Regions from separate parts of the Homo sapiens genome. Here region 2 is linked to region 1. The links are contacts of gene promoters, found by promoter capture Hi-C in human tissues and cell types (Jung and others, 2019). All regions are on one chromosome and are shown on one strand. Each heading gives the region's core, a stretch centred on a gene start or on the middle of the fragment in contact. The rest is flanking DNA. Distances are from core to core; before and after follow the strand shown. Region 1 holds the start of FBXO43 (F-box protein 43). Region 2 has its middle 75 kb from the start of PABPC1.

Evidence for each region. The method cuts DNA at HindIII sites, captures the fragments that hold promoters and counts their contacts. A contact is called where the count stands out against the background at its distance.
Region 2: a contact is called between a fragment that was not itself captured here and the fragment with the promoter of FBXO43 in region 1, in 1 of the 25 tissues and cell types used here (dorsolateral prefrontal cortex).

The regions. Positions count from the first base shown.
Region 1 is chr8:100,143,721-100,147,500 of GRCh38, reverse strand. It overlaps FBXO43 (F-box protein 43), which reads left to right and starts at 1,684. Exons shown (of 5, transcript NM_001029860.4): 1 at 1,684-2,450. The coding sequence starts at 2,366. RefSeq lists a silencer at 1,501-1,960 and an enhancer at 3,072-3,221. The HindIII fragment of the contact is 9,588 bases long and covers 1-3,320 here.
Region 2 is chr8:100,794,954-100,799,198 of GRCh38, reverse strand. No RefSeq gene overlaps it. Among named protein-coding and RNA genes, the nearest start is that of PABPC1, 75 kb to the right of the region's middle. The HindIII fragment of the contact is 5,520 bases long and covers 1-4,245 here.

The sequences.
Region 1 (3,780 bases), core at 435-2,934:
ACTCTTAGTTTCTGCCTATAACAAATTATTTGCAGCTTCTCCATGTGCCCAACTGCTCTTGCACATTTTGTTTTGAGTTTGAAATTTTCCTGCCCTTATACATTTTAAGTTTGGAATTTCCTGCTGTCTGCCTTTTAAATTGCCACTTGTACATCAAAATCTATCTCATGCACTCTGTTCTCCAGTAGAGTTAGCTGGTTCTTCTTTCCTTTGTGCTGCTACTGTTCCTCTGTTACAGCACTTGCTCTATACCAATGAGCTCCTTAACAGCAGTAACTGTGGCTGTGTCAGCTCTGTATTCCCAGTACCTAGCACAGTAATTGGCACATAGTTGGAATTTAATAACTGTTAGTGGACGGGCACAGTGGCTCATGCCTGTAATCTCAGCACTTTGGGAGGCTGAGGCAGGTGGATCACCTGAGGTCAGGAGTTCGAGACCAGCCTGGCCAACCTGGCAAAACTCCGTCTCTACTGAAAATACAAAAATTAGCTAGGCGTGGTGGCGGGTGCCTGTCATCCCAGCTACTCGGGAGGCTGAGGCAGGAGAATCGTTTGAACCTGGGAGGTGGAGGTTGCAGTGAGCCAAGATTGCACCACGGCACTCCAGCGTGCGTGACAGAGCGAGACCCTGTCTCATAATAATTTTAGTGAGTTTGGTTTTGGATGACTGAGGGACATCCAGTTGGAGAAATGTCCAGTCAGAGAAGAGTGGTGGTAGTGCCTGTTATTGGCTTAAAAGTGATGGTTGAAGTTCTGAATAAGAATTACATAAGCATGGGATGATAAACTAATAAAAATGCTGAGGTAGGACCTCTCATTTAGGGAGTAGGCCAAGGAAAAGAAGCCAGAAAAAGGAGACTAGGAAGAAGCTGCCAAGAGCAGCAGGAGTGTCCCTGGCATATAATAGACGCCCAGTAAATATTTATTGAATGAAAAAATTAGGGTTTAAAAAATTTATTTGGCTTTGAGGGTACTTGGGAGTTCATGATGCCCAAAAATGGATGTTTGTAAACAATGAACACATTTCACTCTGGTTTTTATGAATAGATTTTTTAAAAATCTTTTTTTTGAGATGGGGGTCTCACTATGTTGCCCAGGCTGGTCTCAAATTCCTTGGCTCAAGTGATCCTCCCACCTCTGTGCTGGGATTACAGATGTGAGCCACCAGGCCCGGCTCAGCTTTTTTATCACAAAATCTGTATATATTCATTGTTGAAACATGAGAAGAAAACACAGATAAAAAGAACTAAAAAGCAAACATAATCCTGTACAAATTTACCGTATCCAAGTTATTCATACCTTTCAGACCTCATCCTGTGTATATCCATATTTTTAACCTAAAAGGGGTCAGTTTGTAACTTGCTTTTTGCACTTGACAGTTTGGAGAATCATTTCCAAGGGAACATTCTCATACATGATTTCTAATGGCATCCCACTGTAGGCCACGTTAGCATTCCTAAATACGGTAATGCTTCCCAAAGTGGGAATGGGGAGAAGCAGAGCCTTTCTGACCCGCCTCGGGACGGGTGCAGGGGTGAGCGAGAGAGGGGGCGCTCCTCCCGCTCAAGCGAGGACCCAGGCCTGCGGGCGGCCGGGCGGGAGCGCTGCAGAGCCGGAGGAAGGGGCGGGACAGCGCGGCGCGGGGCGGGGCTGCGCTTAGCGGTTACCCCGGGCGGGCCGTTCAAACCTAAGGAGGTAAAGGCAGCGGCCCCACGCGAAGCTGGCGTGGGGGTTGCCATAGCCCGCATCCCAGGGGGCGAGGCCGAGGCTTCTCCCCGGCCCATCCAGCGGCTGCTGCCCGGCTCCTCTCCCACCTGTCCGCTTCGGCGCCTCGCCCGGCCCCGCGGCCTCCAGGCAGGCGGCGGGACCCCAGGCGAGTGCCCGTTAGCGGGTCTCCCGGCGGCCCGGCCCCGCGTCGCCCTGTGTCTTCCAGGTGCTGGGCCTAGGGAGGCGCGCGGCAGCCCTCACTCCTCCGCTCCTGGTGACGCCAGCCCATCCCCTGCTGCCCTTGGCTTTCTGGGCCTAGCGGATCTTTGACGCCCTGGTGAGACCGTTACCCACCCGCCCGCCATAGCTCCTCGGGGGAGTCAGTGCCAGGCTGCAGCACACGCTGCCTTTTCAGGAACCCGAATTTGGGAAGTTTACTCATGTCTAAGTCCAGCTGGAGAAAACAAGGATATTAAGATAACTATTTTCTGGAGGGCTGAAGGAAATTCAAAATGATTTAGACCTTCTCAAGTGTTAGGAATAATCCCTGCGGCATGCACCCTGTGTACCCTTCGACTTTGAGCAATCATGATGCTGCTGCACCTTTCAATTAATTGTGCAAACTAAAGTTTTCCTCTTTAAGTGGCATTATTTTGGCATGAGTTTTAAAGACAAAGATGAGAGAATTTCTTGTTTGGAAGCCTACGTAACTTTGACATCTAAGAGCTCAAGATTTACTGATGGTAAGAGTTTCCACTTTAACAAATGAAGAACATTTGGGTTTAATGTAAGTACTTCATTCTCTGATGTGGTAGGTGCTTTTTCTTTTTTTTCTTTTTCTTTTTTCTTTCTTTTTTTTTTTTTGAGACGGAGTCGCTCTGTCGCCCAGGCTGGAGTGCAGTGGCGCGATCTCGGCTCACTGCAAGCTCCACCTCCCGGGTTCACGCCATTCTCCTGCCTCAGCCTCCCGAGTAGCTGGGACTACAGGCGCCCGCCACCACGCCCGGATAATTTTTTTGTATTTTTAGTGGAGACGGGGTTTCACCGTGTTAGCCAGGTTGGTCTCGCTCTCCTGACCTCGTGATCCGCCCGCCCCGGCCTCCCAAAGTGCTGGGATTACGGGCGTGAGCCACCGCGCCCGGCCGCTGCTTTTTTTTTTTTTTTTCTTAAAGAACACTTTAGGAATAAGTTTTCTCAGCCTTTTATCAGAAGCCTAGTTTTTAAAAATGAATATCGAAGAGGCTTGATTGATTTATCCGTGAACTGTTGAGTCCATAAAATACAACAGACAGTCCATGATTTTACATGAATAATTTTAAAATTCAGTTGCGAAGAACCACGTTTGAGACCAACGTCTTGGGGTAGTAGAAAGATGAAAATGCTAGCAGAGAAAGGACGTTGGAGGCAACTTCAAGTGTGTAGATGAACAGAAACAATTTTTTTTTTAAGAGATGGGGTCTCACTATGTTACCCAGGCTGGTCTTAAACTCCTGGACTCAAGCATTTCTCCCGCCGCGGCCTCCTAAAGTGCTGGGATTACAGGCGTGAGCCACCGGCCAGAATAGATTTTTGGATAACATTTTAGAGGAAAGAGATAATATCTGCATTCCCCACTTTGTTTTTAACAATTTGCCTCTGAGTTTCCCAAATTCTAGCATTGTGAGACACCTAGTGGTGAAGTAGCAGTACAATTGCCATAACCTTTTAAAAGGACCGTGACCTGCCGGGCGCGTTGGCTATTGCCTGTAATCCCAGCACTTTGGGAGGCCAAGGTTGGGTGGATCACCTGAGGTCAGGAGTTCGAGACCAGCCTGGCCAACATGGCGAAAGCCCGTCTCTACTAAAAATACACAAATTAGCCGGGCGTGGTCGTGGGCGCCTGTAATCCCAGTCAGTGGGGAAGCTGATACAGGAAAATTGGTTGAACCCGGGAGGCAGAGGCTGCAGTGAGCAGAAATCACGCCACTGCACTCCAGCCTGGGCGAAAAAGCGAGACTCCGTCTCATAAAAAATAAAAAAATTAAAAATTAAAAATAAAAGGGCTGTGACGCAAATTGAGTGAAAAGTGTTATT
Region 2 (4,245 bases), core at 945-3,444, 650 kb before region 1:
CCATCCTCAGATGCTACCAAATAACCTAACAATACCGGCAATTGCTCTGTCCCACCAAAATTTGGATGTTTCAAAATTGCCTTCAGAAGAACAATCTACTTAATTGAAAAACTGTAGAGACAAAGTCAACCAAGTGCCTGTCAATGGATCCCAGTCTCTGAACTCATTATCCAGAACCTGTAGCCAGTAACAGTCACTTAGCCCAGGCCCAGACCAGCTGAACTGCAGAGATGCAAGTGCCAAAAAGCCAATCTCTCCCTGCTTTTCTCATCTGCCTCCCAGAATCTGATGTCTTGCTGAGTAGCTGGCCAGGTGTCCCCATTCTTAGTGACTTGGAGGAGGTGGGAGACTTGGCAAAGCAGCAGGAATACACACACACCCCTCACCTCTGTCCTCTGCAATCCCCTGAAAAACAGGCTCGTCTGCTTTAACTGGAATCACAAACTTTTAAGTTCTAGAATGAAGTAGCAGATGTTTATGTGAAACGATCCTATTTCTCTAATATTCACTCAGCAAGTAGTTGTCAAGATGGGGTTTACATATTGAAATCCATGGATGGGAGGATTGGCAAGAACTTTGAACAATGGGGTCAATGAGATGCTGAGGAGAAGCCCTGCCTAGGGGAAGAAAATGAGGCGATGGGGACACCAGTGGCTCCTGGCACCTGGATGAACGGAAACCAGAGGCTTCAAATACATTAACCAGAGCAGAAATGGAACCAAACAAGAAAACACATGAAGGTGGAAAGAACAGAAAGGGACAAACTATTTTCTTAGTGAAAATGGGAAAGTTACACACCTCCTCCTCCCAAACATGATGATGTTCTGTTTTGTTAACCTCTTTGAGAAGGTGACTGGATACAGAAATATGGTCTAGCCTATCAATTTATGAGAAACATTTATTAATCATTCCCAGTGAAAATGTATTTGGATGTCAGCTTTAAGTGGATCCTCATGAAGAAATAAAGTCAATGAAGTCCGAAAACTTTTATCTACTTTGGAAGGATGAGGAGGGTGGATTGCTTGAGCCCAGCATTTTGAGACCAGCCTGGGCAACATGGCAAAACCCCATCTCTAAAAAAATTACCTGGGTGTGGTCACGCACACCTGTAGTCCCAGCTACCTGGGAGGCTGAGATGGGAAGATCACCTGAGCCCAGGAGGTCAAGGTTGCAGTGAGCCATGATCATGCCACTGCAATCCAGCCTGGGCAACAGAGTGAGACCCTGTCTCCAAAAAAACAACTACAACAACAAAAACAAACAAACAAAAACAAACCTCCAAAACCCCCACCTCCAAATACTTTTATCTCCTGCCATGTGAAGCTTTAAAGTTAAAACAGAGGTTAAAAAAAAAAAGTGCTGGGGTACAAGCACATCAAACCAGCTCCAAACCCTGGCTCCACCACTTAGTGGTATGACCTTGGATAAGTTCCTTGATGTCTCTAAATCTCAGTTTTCTCATCTATACAGTGGGAAAAATAATATTCCAGATCCATAATCCCTTATCAGCAATTCAGAAATCCAGTAGGCTCTGAAAAACAGCTTTTTTTTTAAGTTAGCAGGAAATTCATTTGATGGTAAAACCTGACCTGAAAGATTATGAGACTTTATATAATATAGTTTTTATTTATCCCATTAAGCATGATTATCCATATGTCAGCTGCAGAAATATCGATGTCTAATGATGGATGTCACCCCAGACCTTGCTGGGAGGTGTTATGAAAAATACAGTACAGGCACAGATTTGCCCCTTAAAAACATGAACGCTTCGGAATTCTGAAACATACCTGAATCTGAACGGAACCAGGTAAGGGATTGGGACCTATACCTTGCGGGTAGTTGGAAATATGGTGAGATAATGTGTGTGAAGTGCTTGTCGCAATGCCTGGCACTTTGTAAGTGCTCAGGAAATAGAAACAATAATTTATTATTTTAAAGCACTCAAATGAATGATTCTTGTCTTGTTCTTTTCACTGTGGAATTTGCCCAGGAAACCACAAACTCTGAAGCTCTGACTCCCCTTTCAGTGTCGCCCCAAGAGCCCACACTTTTGAAGGAATAACCTCCCTGGTGAGATGCACCATGTCCCTGAGGGTGTGGTGGAGTTGTGACCCAGACCCTAAAGCCAAGGAAAAATCTCTGAACATACAACATTCAACAAGGACAAGGACAGGGAATGAAAGAAGTTCTGACGTTGGACAGACACAATTCCAAAAGTGGCATGGCTTGATGGATGAAGGCTCAACTTTGGGGCTGGAGAGACCTCGGTCCTAACTCTGTGCCATCCATGGTGGTGGAAATCCCTGAGTCTCAGTTTCTTCATGTGTAAAATGGGATAATAATACTTACCTAAAACATTTGTCATGGGATAGTAATACTTACCTAAAGCACTTTGTATGGGGCCTGGTACACAGAACATGCTCGAAAGTGAAGGCAGACAGAAACATGAACATTCCACGTATGCTGAGTGACACAGAAACCCAAGCCCGAGGTTACTACCAAACACAGTTCCGCTTTGCCCTAAATTGGCCAAAGCTCCCTCGAGGAAAGGCTAAAGCCTTAGCTTGCCTGCAAAAGCTGAGGAGGAGAAGCCAAGCAGAAGGGGCTCACTGTCTACGAAGACTTACAAACCCACGGTGGCAGGAATGGAGCCTGGGTCCTTCTCTCCCAAGAAGGTAGGCACCCTCAGCTTGCTTTGGGGACCTCTGATTCAATAGGACAGGTAGACATAATGTCAGGTGGGGGGTTACAAGGTGGTTTATGGATACATAGAGAGTCAATAAGGCTCATTCACACCCTGAATCCAGTTTTTGGCTGGATTACCAAGTCCCAGTTTGACTCTTACCCTTATAAAAGGAATAATGTTAAGGTGTACTTAGGAGGAGAAGGAGTTGTTTTCTGCGATTCAGAGTGAATCCTTTCATAAGGGAGACCTTTCACCCGAATTATTACTTTGTCCTCACATGCCCGAATCCGCACTTAAAATGAAAAGTCAACAGCTATTCATTCCTGAGGATGGCCTTGAGCTTACGCTAGCAAGTGCCTTGTTTTCTATAGTTGGAGACGCTGACCTACATAATCACCTTTTCTCCAGACCTGAGCCCTGGGACTTGAGAAACACCAAGTGTAAGACATCATCAACCCCCAGGTGTTCTGAAGCCCCACTCCTTTTCTCTTTCTTGACCATTGTGGCTGAATGTGAATCCCCACCTTTCCTGCCCTCCTGGGGACCTTAGGAATTCTGCTCCTCACTGCAGGTGAGTCACATCAGTATCTAGAACACACATTGCCATTGCCTGCCCCATCCTAGCACAGAGACTTCCCAGCCATCCTTCAATGCCAGCTCTCCGTGAACTTACCCCCATCTCTTCACAGCAGAATGGCTCAACAGGCAGGCCCACTCCATGGTTAGGTCACCAACCATGCTGGGTAACAGAAGAAGAGGCAGAGAATGAACATGGGAGAGAGAAAAGAAATTTTTAGCCAGGTGCGGTGGCTCACGCTGTAACCCAGCACTTTGAGAGGCCAAGGCGGGTGGATCACTTGAGGTCAGGAGTTCAAGACCAGCCTGACCAATATGGTAAAACCCTGTCTCTACCAAAAATACAAAAAATCGGCTAAGCGTGGTGGCAGGTGCCTGTAATCCCAGCTATTCAGGAGGATGAGGCAGGAGAATCGCTTGAACCCGGGAAGCGGAGGTTGCAGTGAGCCTAAATCGTGCCACTGCACTCTAGCCTGGGTGACAGAGTGAGATTCTGCCTAAAAAAAAAAAAAAAAGAAAAAGAAGAAATTTTAAAAATAATTTGACATTTGATTAATTGTTTAAAGCATCAAAGTATAAAATAAATATCCATGTATCCATACTGGTATCAATAAATAATTGAATAAATAAATAAATGTGGGAGAAAGGACAGCTTTTCCTTACAGAAGAATTCAAAGCAAATAAATGTATTAATAATTAAGAAAATAGAAAATCATCATTAGCCGTGTGCAGTGGCTCACACCTGTAATCTCAACACTTTGGGAGGCTGAGGCGAGCAGACTGACTGACCTCAGGTGTTCGAGACCAGCCTGGACAACATGGTGAAAACCCGTCTCTACTAAACTACAAAGAATTAGCCGGGCATGGCGGGGTGTGCCTGTAATCCCAGCTACTTGGGAGGCTGATACAGGAGAATCACCTGAACATGGGAGGCGGAGGTTGCAGTTAGCTGAGATTGCATCACTGCACTCCAGCCTGGGAGA